Regions from separate parts of the Homo sapiens genome. Here region 2 is linked to region 1. Evidence: promoter capture Hi-C in human tissues and cell types (Jung and others, 2019). All regions are on one chromosome and are shown on one strand. Each heading gives the region's core, a stretch centred on a gene start or on the middle of the fragment in contact. The rest is flanking DNA. Distances are from core to core; before and after follow the strand shown. Region 1 holds the start of TTC29 (tetratricopeptide repeat domain 29). Region 2 overlaps LOC105377476 (a long non-coding RNA gene).

Region 1 (6,960 bases), core at 1,831-4,330:
TAAAAATAAAAAGATAACTTTAAAAAACAAATTAATATATTCAGAGATAATTGCAAAATATTACATTAATAAAAGAGTCTATAAAGAAGGAGCAATCAGAAAGCAAGAACGCTCAAAGACCAAGAATGTGACTCCTTCTATGTACAAGCAAATCAATTAAAGACTAAAAAGCAATATTGTCAAAAACTTACAGACTTTAGAATATAAAGGCAAAAAGGATAAAAATCTTTTTTAAAAAATCAAGGATAAAAAAGACAAATCTAGGGATCTGCATTCACTAAACAGAATCTTAAAGAAATAATAGAACAAATTCAAGACAAGGAAATTATAATTTAAAAAATAGAAGACAATTATCTAAATCTGAAGAAGGATGTGAGTACTCAGCTGAAGAGTTCTACCATAAAATTTGAGAACAAAAAGGATAAAGTAACCTAAAAATGCCTGTGTTGAGGGGAAAAACCAAGTCTACGACCATCATTATGACTATTAAAGGATAATCTGGTCTTTCAGGCACAGGTGAAATCGTGCATACCTGCTTTCTTAAAGTTGAGCATGGCTACTTCAGTTGTGGCCAACGAAATGTGAAAGTGATGGATACCCTTTTGGATGAAGCCTTTAAAGCTAATGTGCAGTTTACTCTCATGATCTCTCTGCTACAGACCAGCCATCCTCCAGGTGGCAAAGGTTCTCTCATATTGATTCTGCTGTGGCATAGCATGGAGCAAAACCCAAGGCTGACTTGTGATGGTGACATACGGTAATCAATCAATAAATTTTGTTGTTTTAGGCCACACAGATTTGTGGTTGTCAATTTGTGGTTGTCACTGCATATGGATCTTACTACTACATCACATACAAAGGAAGGACAATAAAATTGCCACTAGACTTCTCATCCCAAACACTGGATACTAGAAAACAGTGAAATAATACCTTCTAAATTCAGAGGGAAATGATTGTTAATCTAGAATGTGCAATCCTACCAAATGATTGTAGGCAAAATAAGGATATTGTCAGACATGAAAGAACTTAAAATTTTATCTCATATGTTCTTTCCTAAGATGTTACTTGGGGATGTGTTTAGTAAAACAAGAATGATTCAGAATAATTTTACTGTAGAAATTGATGATTGAGATATCAAAAACACTTTGAGAACAATTATGGGGAGCAGTTAAGATGGATTGGCTTCCATTAGAAAATTGTCTCTTGCTTCTTTAGGGAGCTGACCTAACCTAAAATCATTTCTCCAGAGCAAGACTGGAAGAGGAAACTTTAGAGGTTGTTATGTCAGTAATAGCATTCAAACTATCAGTTGTGTCACCTGACCTTCCCCCTAGAATTCTAGGTGGAGAAGATTGAGGAAGCAATGAGAAGAATTACACAAGGAAGAATCTGTTTGAAAAACCACTCTATTCTGTCATTCTGTTAATTCAAAAAATATTTTTGAGCACATACTGTATACTAATCCTTGCATACGGTACAAGGGAATTCAGAAAACAATAAAACAAAGTCTCTGCTTTCAAGGTACTCACAATCTTTCAGGCAAGTTTGGTTCCCATAAGCCAAACACCATGCAAAGTTATACTGATAAAATCAAGGTAGGTCTAAGAGAAAGGAGGCGAGAGGAGGAGAAATTAATTCTGTGTAGTGAAAGGAAGAGGTATTCTGGAATCCTCAAAACTTTCAGAAAGGCCTGAGTTTCTAGATAAAGTTGCAGCTGAATCTGGCATCCTTTGGTTTTCATCAGTTTCCTTTTTTGCTTAAGCCCGTTTGTGTTTTCTGTCACTTGCAAACAAAGTTCTCTAACTGAAGGAATTCTATGCTAAACAGAAGGAGAAAGAGAGTTAGTCAAAGAACTTCTAGTGAAAAAACAGCAAGTAGGAGAAGTAAGTCCAAAGAAGCAGGAAGGAACTACCTAGAAAGCCAACTAAGACAGCCTCCTGTGAGAAAGGAAGGTGCATGGAATTCACAAACAGACTCTAAGTCAGAAAAAGCAGCAAGGACTGGAAAAGAATTCACACAGGTCACAGTGGAGTGTGTTAAGGTGATGCTGAAACTGGAAAATAAACTCATGAGAATAGAATGAGAGTCTTACTGGTGTGGGGGATGGGGTGGAGCCCAATTACAGATAGTCACAGTGCTCATTGAATGTATAATGTAAACATACTTGGAAATAATTTAGTAATTTGTTACAGCAAATGAGATGTTAGAATGAAAGTGTGGTTATGGTTGATATGCTTGTACTCTAAATAGAATCGATTTATGGTTAATAGAATGATTCGTGTGAGCAATATCGCTGGCTCGTTCTCCTACAATGTGTGTCAGTAGACAAGGAACAATAGCCTAACTTTCCAGCACTTCTGTATTTTAGAAGTAACAAGTGGCAAGCCTCACTCTCTTGCCCCATATATATATGAGGGAATGAGCAAGGAATTTCACTTCCTTGCACTCATGTCTGAGAGAAGAGATGGAATGATGGGCCGAGATTAATACGATGATATTTATTTAGTGTAAATATAAAACCCTGAGTTTCAGGTAAAAATGCAAAACAAATAAGGACAGATGCAGGGAGATTCTCTGAAAGAGACCTTGAGTATTTAGCGAACCACAATTCAAAATTGAATTGTCTGTGGGGACATGACAGGAAAAGGCATTTGTGGTGGGTTCTGACTGCAAGAGAGGCTGAGGAAGAGGAGAATGAATGACTTAGCTAGATGGATAAATTGGCTTCAGGTCACGGGGATCATGAATGCCTAGCTCAGCGTTTTCCCATCAATCCTGTGGACAAAAGAGAAATGAAGAAAAAGCATTGAGAATGCAAGGCCACGAAAGAAATGAAAGTGGCAAATTCGAGCCTCTTGGGTTACGTGAAAATGCCTAAAAGCGAGCTAACTTCTGAAAGCAGCCCTGCTTGAAAAGCCTCAGCTATCTGGGGGCCCCGCCCGGCCGTCAGTAAGCTCCACCCCTCGCCAGACTCCGCCCCCAAGCCCGAAGAGTCTGGGAGCTGCCCCAATCCCGAGGCCCGGTTTAGCCTAACTCCACCCCCGGCCGTCATGCCTCGCCTCTCTGTTTCCGTGGAGACGCTCTCGGCGTCCCCTGTCTCCGCTCCGGCGGAGCCAGGCTTCGGAATCACTGAGAGAGGAGGGGGCAGCGCCAACGCCCAGCACCTGCCGCCGGTGGGGGACTGACTTCGGCGGAACGGAAAACTGGAGTTGTTTCCCTGGGCCAGTGCACCGAGGTTCGTGACGGCAGGGGCGAGGTTGGGACCGGACTTCCTCAGCTCCTTGGAGAGGCAGGCTGTTCTTCAGGCAGCCCCTTCCCTGACCCCTACAGCCAGCCCTTCCTCCATCAGTCTTTCTCAAGCTTCCTCAGTCCAGGCCCTCGCCACTTACCTCAATAAACGAATTGAAAGAGAAGTAGGGAAAGGCGCCAGTTCCTCTTGCTCCCCAGTTCACCTGACCCTCTGAGGGGAGTGAAAAACTAGGCATAGGATAAGTCCTTTAGTCCTGTTGAGAACTAGGTGGGAACAGAAAGGGAACTGAGATGCTCTCCGTTTTTGGCAAAGATAACTGTATCTCGTAAATTTGAGAGAACAAATGGTTATCCCTAATGTCACATTTGTATTGAAATACATCAATACATATACATATTTCAGATGTTTTGGCATTTCACTGATTTAGTGATTAGTTTCTCTCATAGGATCTATACTTGGGGATTTTCTTTAAAAGTTCATCTAAACTTAGATGGTAGGAAGTATTTGTTGTAAGAGTGAATCTTATTCCATGACTTGGAGCGGGGAGAGGAGTTACACTACTGAATGATTTTAAATTTTTCTTCTTTGCTATTATTCTTTGCTTCCTGATTTTCAGGCTGAAGTCTATAAGCCTGGAGAGACCATCAGCAGTAATCTGCAAATGTAAGTCACGTGAAATATGGCTTGCCTTCAAACTCATTTCCTGCTTGATTTTGTGATTTAGCCATCAATGTCAGCTGGTAGGAAATGTGTGTTTTCTATTTATTTTACTAAACAACCTATCTACCCATGAGAGAGTGCCAGAAGTGTCCAAAAATTATGATACCGAGAATAAACATTATTACTGACTCTTTATAAACTTAATTATGTTTTTTTTTTTACTTAGGGAGCATAATTAGTGATATTTCTTCTGTAGTTTTCATTAAACTTTCATAGTAAAAGAGCTTGGATAATATGAAAAGTTTTAATTCTTATGAATGATTTTTAGTAAAATCCTACTTGTTTTGAACTCGTGATGATGTATAATAAACTTGCTTACTGTGGTTTACTGGCTTTATTTCTCTAATCTCAGTTTTTACTCCAAAGTGACTGAACCCTGCAGACACTGGTCAGCCTCAGACATAGTCATTCTCCAAGTAGCCTCCATTTACATAGTAGTAGGTCTCCCTCCTTTGTGTTTCCTGATAAAGGCATCTCTGGGGATAGAGGGCAGGAGAGTTACTCTTTGAAGAATTTTACTTGGGGGCCAAAAATTTAAGCTCACACCATGGGACACATTCAGCCTGACCTAGCACTCTCAAACCTTTCATCCTGTATTTCTCCATTTTCATTTGTCTTTGCATGTGGGGGCCAAACTTAGAGATTGTAGCTGTGATACAAGAGCCAACCAGCAGATCAAAGAGTACACCAAATTTCTTCTGAATACCAACAGTGGAATGGCTTCAGGCGGCCTTTTGATCTTTGTCTCAGCACCCGATGATGCCACACTGTAGCACTGCCCACTTGCTAGCACTGGCGGAGGTTCCTGTGGGTCCTCCTAACAGGCTGATTCAGCCTGAGCTCCTGGGGCTAAGCTCATTTGGTAGCAGCCAAAGAGGTATCTTTCATTCTTCTTCTTTCTTACTCACCTGAACCTGAGCAATTTCCCTTCCTGCAGCCACACCATCTTGTGTGTTTTCCCCTGAGATGTTGATCTGGGAGAACCCTAAGGAGGTGCCATAACTAGTGGTGATATGCTCCATTTATGCTACAGGCCTGGGTCAGTCACCTCATAGCACTAGTCCCATTCTTCATTGTTGAGTCTAAATTGGAGCTCACATGGGAACTGAGAATGCTGTCTGACCAACACCAGGAAAATGATGCAACTCATATTAACAAAGACCAAAAGGCTTTCTTTACAGGTATTTAATTTAATGGAAGTACTGCAAACCCTGCTTGAACTTGTAAGGCATAAAAGATGGCAATTACTTAGATAAGAAACTAATTTGTTACAGGACCCCTTTAAATATTTGCTGCATTCAAAATATTAACTCTGTCATAAAATTCAGATCACACATTATCTGTTGTGTAAAACAAAATACCTTATGTGGCCACGTATTGATTCTGAGAAACAAAATTCACTTTCCCGATGGGCATAGGTAAGGTAGGATGTGGGGTTCAGAAACAAAGAGAAAGCCTGTTCAACTTCCATCCTGACTCTAAGCTTAAACTGTCCAACATAGATTGATTGAGGGATATTTTTTCCAACATGCTTTTTTTTTTCCACTTTATCATTCAGCTCTGATAACTTTTTTTCCACTTTATCATTCAGCTCTGACCACCCCCCATTCAGAGTTTGTGCCTTGAGGCTTGCCAGCAGGGCTTGCAGTACTTACATTAAACTAAATTTAAGAGTAAAGGTGCTCCTGCTGCTAATGTTCTCAGATCAGAGGAGAGCAAAATGAAGGAACTGGCAGCTGAAACTTTAATGGTAGGAAACGTTGACTCAGAATTTTGAAAAAAAAAAAAAAAAAAAAAAAAAAAAGCACAGTTGATCTGTATGACAAAGAAGACATATCCCTCTCCATGTATGTCATTTGCATTTGGTTTCTATTCCATGCTTACATTTTCTAACAAAAATCATCGAACTCAAGTAAACATCAAAAAGGATAAATTTTATATAACATGCTGGTATGCCAACTTTGGTGGGGAGTTATACGCACCTGGATGAGCTATCTTGGCTGGATCAGCACCTCTGGGGGCTGCTCTCTTTTATCTGTCTACAAATAGCTGGATGTTCTTAGTATTCAAGGAAATTGCAAGCACTGTTCCTCATTTTGAAGCTCCTGGGTGAACTCTTCAAAGACCCCTGCAATTATGAAGAGATTACCCTGGCCCCAGTGCCCACTGCATAATGCTTTGGCAAGTAAAGTGGGGCTTTTAGAAAAGAGTCTAAAATTTATAGAGGATGGAATGCCCCAAATGAGGCAAACTTAGTTGTTTTCTTCTCTCCCTTTTTAAATTTACTAGGGCTACACTGGTGTGGGTTAAGAACTTAGATGATTCCGATGTTCACTGTAACATTGGAAGACTCTGGAACTCTGTGGAAAAGTCTTCACAGCTCCTCTGAAGTAAGCTCTTGGGAGGCCCGTTTGGGGAGCTTTGGTGTCCCTTCAAACCTCACATGAGTTATAACTTCTTACCATATGCTCTGTATGATGCTGCCATTTAGTAAGTTCTTGTTATTCCAGTAACTCAACTGTTTAATATAACATCTAATCAGAAAAATAGATTTTTTAAATTAAAAAAATTGTCATTACGTTATGAAGTTATAAAGGGTAATATAGTATGTTTCTAATGTTTAGTCTGTAGGAGAGGACTAACATTTGCTGTTTAGATTGTGCACTTTAAAGCATAGACCCTTTAAAGGGTAGACCCTTTGCTTTCCAATTAATGTTCATTAACTTCCACTCTTAATGCCTTAACTGCATAAAATAAGTGGGCATTTTGTTTCATAGATCATATCATGCCTTGATAAACTGGTAGTACTAGGATTCTGTTATATTTAAAATAAACCACTGATCTCCATTAGAATTCTCTTTAATTATGTAAAAAATTATTTTTAGGCCAGGATAATAATCTTTTTCAGTAACACAAAGCTGTCTATTTCTACACTGAATTTCAGAAGATTTTCTCTCGTCTTAGTGCTTCTGCACCCCTACCTCCACCAT
Region 2 (6,960 bases), core at 2,807-5,306, 140 kb before region 1:
TGCCAGGTTTTGCAGCACGGAAGGCTGCATAACATGAATGGTGAAAGATCAACCAAAAACATGTAATTCTGGAACAGTGTCTCTTATTGTATGTTTTTTTAATTGAAATTTTTATATGCTCAGAGCCGAATTTATTTTCTATTATAACCTCATAGTTTTATGTTCATGGCTACTCAATAGCATGGTTATTTTAAAAGCAGTAATCAATAATTATATGTCCATAGTCATTATTACCTAATATGGTAATGAACACAGTTAAAGACTATAGACTTGCAGTTTCATCCAGAGGTTACGTCTATCTTCTGTTAAAATGTGAACTTCTCTTTGATGTGGAATAATAGTTGAGAAATAAAGATGGCTGGCCATGGTGGCCCACGCCTGTAATCCCAGCACTTTGGGAAGCCGAGGTGGGCAGCTCACGAAGTCAGGAGTTCGAGACCAGCCTGGCCAACATGGTGAAAACCCCGTCTCTACTAAAAATACAAAAATTAGCCAGACCTGGTGGTATGTGCCTGTAGTCCAGCTACTTGGGAGGCTGAGGCAGGAGAATTGCTTGAACCCGGGAGGCAGAGGTTGCAGTGAGCCAAGATCACGCCACTGCACTCCAACTTGGGCAACAGAGTGAGACTTCGTCTCAAAAAAATACATAAATAAAAATAAAAATAAAAATATTTCAGTGCTTAGTAATCCTGACACCTCTGTGCAGTATTTGCTCTCTCTCTCCCTCTCTACTTTCAGAACGTTCCAGAATGCTGTCTTTTGATAGTCTGTAATGCAGAAGCTGTTAGAGAAGCCTCACCCTGGGAAAGTATTCTTCAGGACAGATGGCATTCTATTTTATTTACCCTTTGATTGTATCTTAGGAAAAAGTTATCACATTTACTGGGCACAGGAATTTGGGGATGTTGAATTTGGTGATGGTCATTTGTGAGATTTGACTCACTCTGCTGCCTCCACCAGCAGTGCCTTCATATATGGGCCTTAAAGGAGAAGAGGCATGTGGCATCACTCACTCATACAGCAAGTGTTCACCCAGTTCATACTTCATCGGGGCAACTGAGCGGGTCCACAGCATCCAGCAGCCAACTAGAGAGAAGGAGGCAGTGGCTGCAAAGAGCATGGAGTCCACAGATAGAACAGAAGAAGCACACTGGGTGTGAAGGTGGCATTCTCATTAGTGGGGAAGGGTCTAGGATCACTGAAATCCTAGTGGAAACACTGAGTGGATGTGTCAAGTGAAGAATCAGTAATGTCTCAGTGTAACCATCACTTTAACTTAAATGAACGCAAAGACAACAAGCTAATTATTTTCTACTGAAATTCTTGTTTCCAGTGTGCATGTCAAAAATTTATAATAGTTACCATTGTTTGGGACCAGACTTTTTTTTCCTAAACATTATTATTTGTTGTTATAATTCAGCTTGGGTTTGAGTTGTTCGGGGATAAAATAAGAAAACAATATAAAGTGAATTAATCTAATGATCAAACCAACAACATGAAAGTTACAACATGAATGATCTAAGGAAACCCAGGTTGCAAAAGCTACCAGGGCCATTAATAGGTTTCTTATTAATTTTTTCCCCCACTCAGGAACTTCTGTGTTAGTTTATAACAGCAATTTGGATTCATAGCACTGGATGGTTTACAGAGTTCATTTCTGCACATTTTTATCTTAAGATCTTTAAACAATACTATGACTATGACCTAGAGAGTGCAGATTTTATCTCCAACATATAGAAAATAAACTGAGGCTTAGGGATACACTAAAGATAACCACTTAATGGTAGAGACTAGAACTTAACTCCAAATTCAATCTTCATTCTACTACTTTCTGCCTTCCTACTATGAATTCTAAATCAGATCTTCAAAAAATTTAAAGATGATAGCAGTCATATCCTTATATCGAGAATTTTAAACACCCAGTATGTCTAGTTTAAGTACCTATTCTGGGAGATAAGTGATCTTTAAATCACCCACTCTTTCACGCAACCCCATCTCAGAACTGAGAGTGAATTCAGGAATATTTTTCCAGCCTCGGAATAGAGAATCCTTTGGGAAAATAATTTTAATGGTTATGGATCACTAGCAAATCTTGACTGGTATTTTTTTTTTAAACCAAGCCATCTGGCAGTTGTGTCTTATTTCTTCCTGCTGTCAATGGCTGGACCCACACACATTCCAACCTCATACAAGAATGCCAATGTCTGCACATTTTCACTATGAACAGGCATTTTCAGTCAAAGCAGAGAGAAATGAGGCTCTGCCTGTCTGTGGCAATAACATTAATATTACCTCTGTACAGATGCTTTTAGAAGTATGAAGTTAAATGCAGAGCCCTGGAGATGCCTAGAAGCACACATGAGATAAGCACAGCCATTCACGGAAGACCTAAGAAACTGAGCATTTGCAGGACAAACTTTTCACCATGACAAAGTACAGCAATGTTGCGTATTCCAATATGAGACTGACAGCAGGAAATAATGACAATAAGATAAGTGTAAGATGCATTTATGATGCAGAGAGGTGGAAGATACATTTATATGTATGTATTTGGTCAGAATAAGCAAGGATATTATTAATTACCAATGTAAATTTAGCCTTGGGGAATAAAACAGCTGAAATCTGAAGGCAGCAAAGTCAGTCTGGCTACAGATAAGCTAAGAAGTGTAGATCTGAAATAAACATTCATTACAATCCCTTTGACAAGAAAAACTGTTATATTAGTGGATAGCATTTAGGAACTCAGAGGAGCAGAAGGTCAGCTTCACAACAAAAATGCCAACTGCTAAATGAATGTGCTGAGCAAAACTGGCCAGAGAGTGCCCTCACAAAGGCAGCGGTAGGGTGGGACTGGCCCCTGGGGATGCTGAAGAAAATGCTGGTGTCCAGTGGCTTATTGACCCATTTCACTCTCATTCTTTCAACTGCTGTTAAGTGAAAACAGGGTTACATGTGAGCATACACACCTGTGCATCTGTATACATGCATATTTATTTAATGCCAGCAGTCTCTTTCCTGTTTACCCTTCTAACTTCATAAACAAGAGGAGAACATTTTCTAGGCATTAAAAAAATCTGATAAAGCAGAACCACCCTAACTTATGGGAAAAGAAGAAAAGCATTTAGTCCATTGAGTCAAGCTCATGGAACCAGAAGTATGCTTGGAAATCGGCCATTAAGGATAAAGTTGAGCATTTGCAATCCAGGCACTAGATCTAAATACCTACAATTGTTTGTTCATGTCATGGACTAAATATGCAGGTTGTATTTTAACATTCATTTTGACCCCTGCATTGAATTCTGTAGATAACAAGGCTGTTTTCTATTTGTGGATCATGATAGTGGCCATCAGATGCTCTGCAATGGTGTACTTACCTAAAATGTGAGGCCATGGTCAGAATTATATAGTGTTCATCTTATTTTAAAGAGTTAAAAACTGTAGTTTTAGGAAATCAAGAGATTTTTAGGATTTTACGCATGTGCACTTGGTGAAGATTTCACTACTCTGTAATTCAGGTTTTGCTTTTTATTTTTCATGCAAATAGAACCAAGACACTATTCTCTCCACAATAAGGGAGTTAGAGACTGGAGCCCAGAAATGAGACCAAGCATAGGCTTGGTCTTGACTTTGTACCTTAGCCATGATCGGTTTATTGCATTTTATAGTTGGATCATTCCTTTATTCCATGACTGTGAAGTGTGAGGTGGAGACAACAGGATTAGTAACACATTAAGTGATTTATTCACTTCCATTAATTGCCAACTATATATGAGGAACTATGATAAGTATTAGGGATGCAGAGATGAATAAGACAAGGCCTCTGATTTAGAAGATCTCATAGTTAAATGAAGGAGGTAAATTAGCAGACAAATCATAATACAAATAGTCTAACTGAGACATGACTAAAATGTTCTGGAAATTTAGAGGAGAAAGAAACCCTGCCATTGTGAGAGGGCATTTGACTTGGGTCTTGAGTACTTTTTGAATATTTGTATTAATTCTCCCAGGAAAAATAAAGTGAGGAGCCTTCCAATCTCATGTGTCTCACAAGCCTTCTGCTAAAATGATTGAGATTTGCTTAAAGCTGGCTATATGCTACAGCAACTATATATATATTTTGTTTCTCAGTTTACAAAGTGCTTTCTAGCATGACTCTCACAAAATGCCCTTACCATGGGGATTATTCTCCCCATTTTACATGTGAGAATGCTGAGGCACTGAATGGGAAGTAACTTGCACCAGGGCCTGGATTCAAACATTGCAAATATTGGCTTTCTTCCAATTCCAAAAACTTAAATCTTTTTTCTTGTTTATATAAACAAAAAAGTGTATATATATATACACACACACACACTTTGGAGATACATATATACACACACACACACACACACACAACCTTGATTATAGAAATAACAAATTTCAACAGCATCATTTCATTAAGCTTCCCATTTAAAATGGATCCATTTCATTTATGCTTCTATTGAAGAGATGGATGTTCATCTGGTCCTGTTTCCTATTAGCTAAAAGGAACTTTGGAATTGCTCTGCTGGAAAAGCCCATGTTCCATCCAACCTAATATTGTGTTGACAACAGAGGCCTCAAGGGATTTGCCAGGGAAGGACATAGTTTTCCTCCCTGACATTAACCTTAAAGGTTAGGTGTACTCTCAGTAGCCATTTATGGCTCTGACATTCATAAATTTGGTCAAAACCTTTATGAATCCATTTATATTCCTTGCCTGTACCTCTTTTGTGATAATGAGCTCCATACGTTTATTATTTTCTTTGTAAAGTAATACTTCCTTTTATTGGTCCTTAACTCACCTCACTCAAGTTTCAAGGGGGTCCTCTACTTCCAGTGAGAAATTGAGGATTAGTAGAATAACTGTGCTGTGTTCAGTTTACAAATGATCTCCAAAATTCTCCGGGTTTATTTTATTTTTGTCTAAAGCAAGAATAAATAAACTGTACATTATATTTTTATTGTAGAGAGACCAATATTTTATTTAAAGATGAAGATTCTGCCTAGTGGCATATTTTTAGTATACTTTTTGATGCTGCTAAAATTTGCTCTAGAAAAATAACCTCATTTTGGTATTTGTAATACACATTTTGCATGTCGAAGGCAGCTCCAATCTGGCTATGGGGAAAGCTTGAGGTAATTTTTGTTGTCTTCTACAACCACTTTTGAAGAGTAAGTATATTGCATATTATGTATATTTGATAACTGATTATAATGGATGATTATAATGGATGTATGAGAGAATATCATGAAGTAGTAGAAGAATGCTGTCCTAGGTGTCAAAGACCTGGTGTTCTAAAACCATTTCTGGACTGTAGATTTCAAGCTTATGAGATTAGGGATTAAATTAGGTAATTTTCAAGATTACTTTGTACTTTAAAATTGTAAGTCCTTGATTTCCTTAGCCATTCACTTGGTGACTTTAACAGAACACAGCCAATCCTAGCTTCTCTAAGCCTCGGCAGCCATCTCCTGATTCTATCACGATTCATTTGCTCTCAGTACTATTGAAGGCTTGTAGATATTTCTTATTTCCCACTCCAGGGATCTCAGTAAATGAAAAAATTATAATTTCCTCACTCTACCCCCTTACACAGATAATTACCTTTCCTACAGATTTTTCTCAAGTGGTGGGTTTATTTTAGGCTCCCCAAGCTTTTCTTGTTTGGAGGTAGGGCTTAAAGGCCTCTTCTGGATCTCTTCTGTTCTAAGTGGTCACCCTTATATTTGATCAGTACCATCCTTTAGAACTCACTACAAACAAAAGTAAATATTCACCAAAGCCTCTTCATTTTCATCTTTCAATTTGCTCAGAATCTTGAGGCTGATGGCTTTCGTCCCAACTACATTTGTTTGTTGACTTGGGTTAAAATTTTTTTCAGCATTGGCCACTTACTAGTTTTGCCATGAGAAGTAGACATTTAATAAGAATTATTTTATTTGCATTTTTTTCAAATGGTGAGTACAGGGTTGCAAAGTTCTCAGCCATTTTTTTTTTTTTTTTTTTTTTTTTTGAGACGGAGTCTCGCTCTGTCTCCCAGGCTGGAGTGCAGTGGGGCAATCTCGGCTCACTGCAAGCTCTGCCTCCCGGGTTCATGCTATTCTCCTGCCTCAGCCTCCTGAGTAGCTGGGACTACAGGCGGCCACCACCATGCCCGGCTAATTTTCTGTATTTTTAGTAGAGATGGGGTTTCACTGTGTTAGCCAGGATGGTCTTGATCTCCTGACCTCGTGATCCGCCTGCCTCGGCCTCCCAAAGTGCTGGGATTACAGGCATGAGCCACCATGCCAGCAGTTCTCAGCCATTTGAATACAACATCACTCTGCTCATCAAACGAACACTCACTCCTTACACACCCGTTTATGACCAGGTCTCCGCTTGCTCTACCCAGACACAGTGACACTTCAAGCACACAGTTCATGGCGTGGTGAAAGCATGTGAACTTACAGGTTTAACAGTCACATCTGTAAAATGGAGCCAGTGATGCCCACATCATGGGATTGTGCTGGGCCCTAAATGAGGAATGCATGTCATACCTCGGACACATAGAGGAAATTTAGGTGTATGACTGTTGGCTTTTTTCCTGTTATTTTCTAGTTCTCTAATTAAGCCATCCAACAATTCAAATTGGAATAGACCACTGTATCAGAGGTGTATTAAAGCAATAGGACACTGACTCCCCGAAAAACATTGTTTATAAATAGAGAAACACTGTGGTCTGTGAAAACTGAAGTGAATTGAATGTGTCTTGTAAAGTTGACCAGGCTGATTGTCATTGTTTTGAGAAAAGTTTTTCCTGCTCACATTGGCTCTAGTTGTTATCAGATGCTGTGTTGCTATGCTGTTCATACTTTGCTGTGTGGCTGATATTAACCACAATGATCTGGGTCTTTCTCTTAGATAGCCTATTTTAGTAGGCTATAAAGCTTTATCTGTCC

What was found. Contacts are between HindIII fragments. The study calls those that stand out against the background at their distance.
Region 2: a fragment that was not itself captured here is called in contact with the fragment with the promoter of TTC29 in region 1 in 1 of the 25 tissues and cell types used here (H1 embryonic stem cells).

What each region holds. Positions count from the first base shown.
Region 1 is chr4:146,941,984-146,948,943 of GRCh38, reverse strand. It overlaps TTC29 (tetratricopeptide repeat domain 29), which reads left to right and starts at 3,080. Exons shown (of 13, transcript NM_031956.4): 1 at 3,080-3,235; 2 at 3,867-3,913. It overlaps TTC29-AS1 (TTC29 antisense RNA 1), which reads right to left. Exons shown (of 7, transcript NR_188447.1): 2 at 5,953-6,098; 3 at 3,390-3,513. RefSeq lists a silencer at 2,948-3,087. The HindIII fragment of the contact is 11,756 bases long and covers 1-4,407 here.
Region 2 is chr4:147,081,298-147,088,257 of GRCh38, reverse strand. All of the region lies in intron 2 of LOC105377476 (a long non-coding RNA gene), which reads right to left. Among named protein-coding and RNA genes, the nearest start is that of TTC29, 140 kb to the right of the region's middle. The HindIII fragment of the contact is 4,512 bases long and covers 1,801-6,312 here.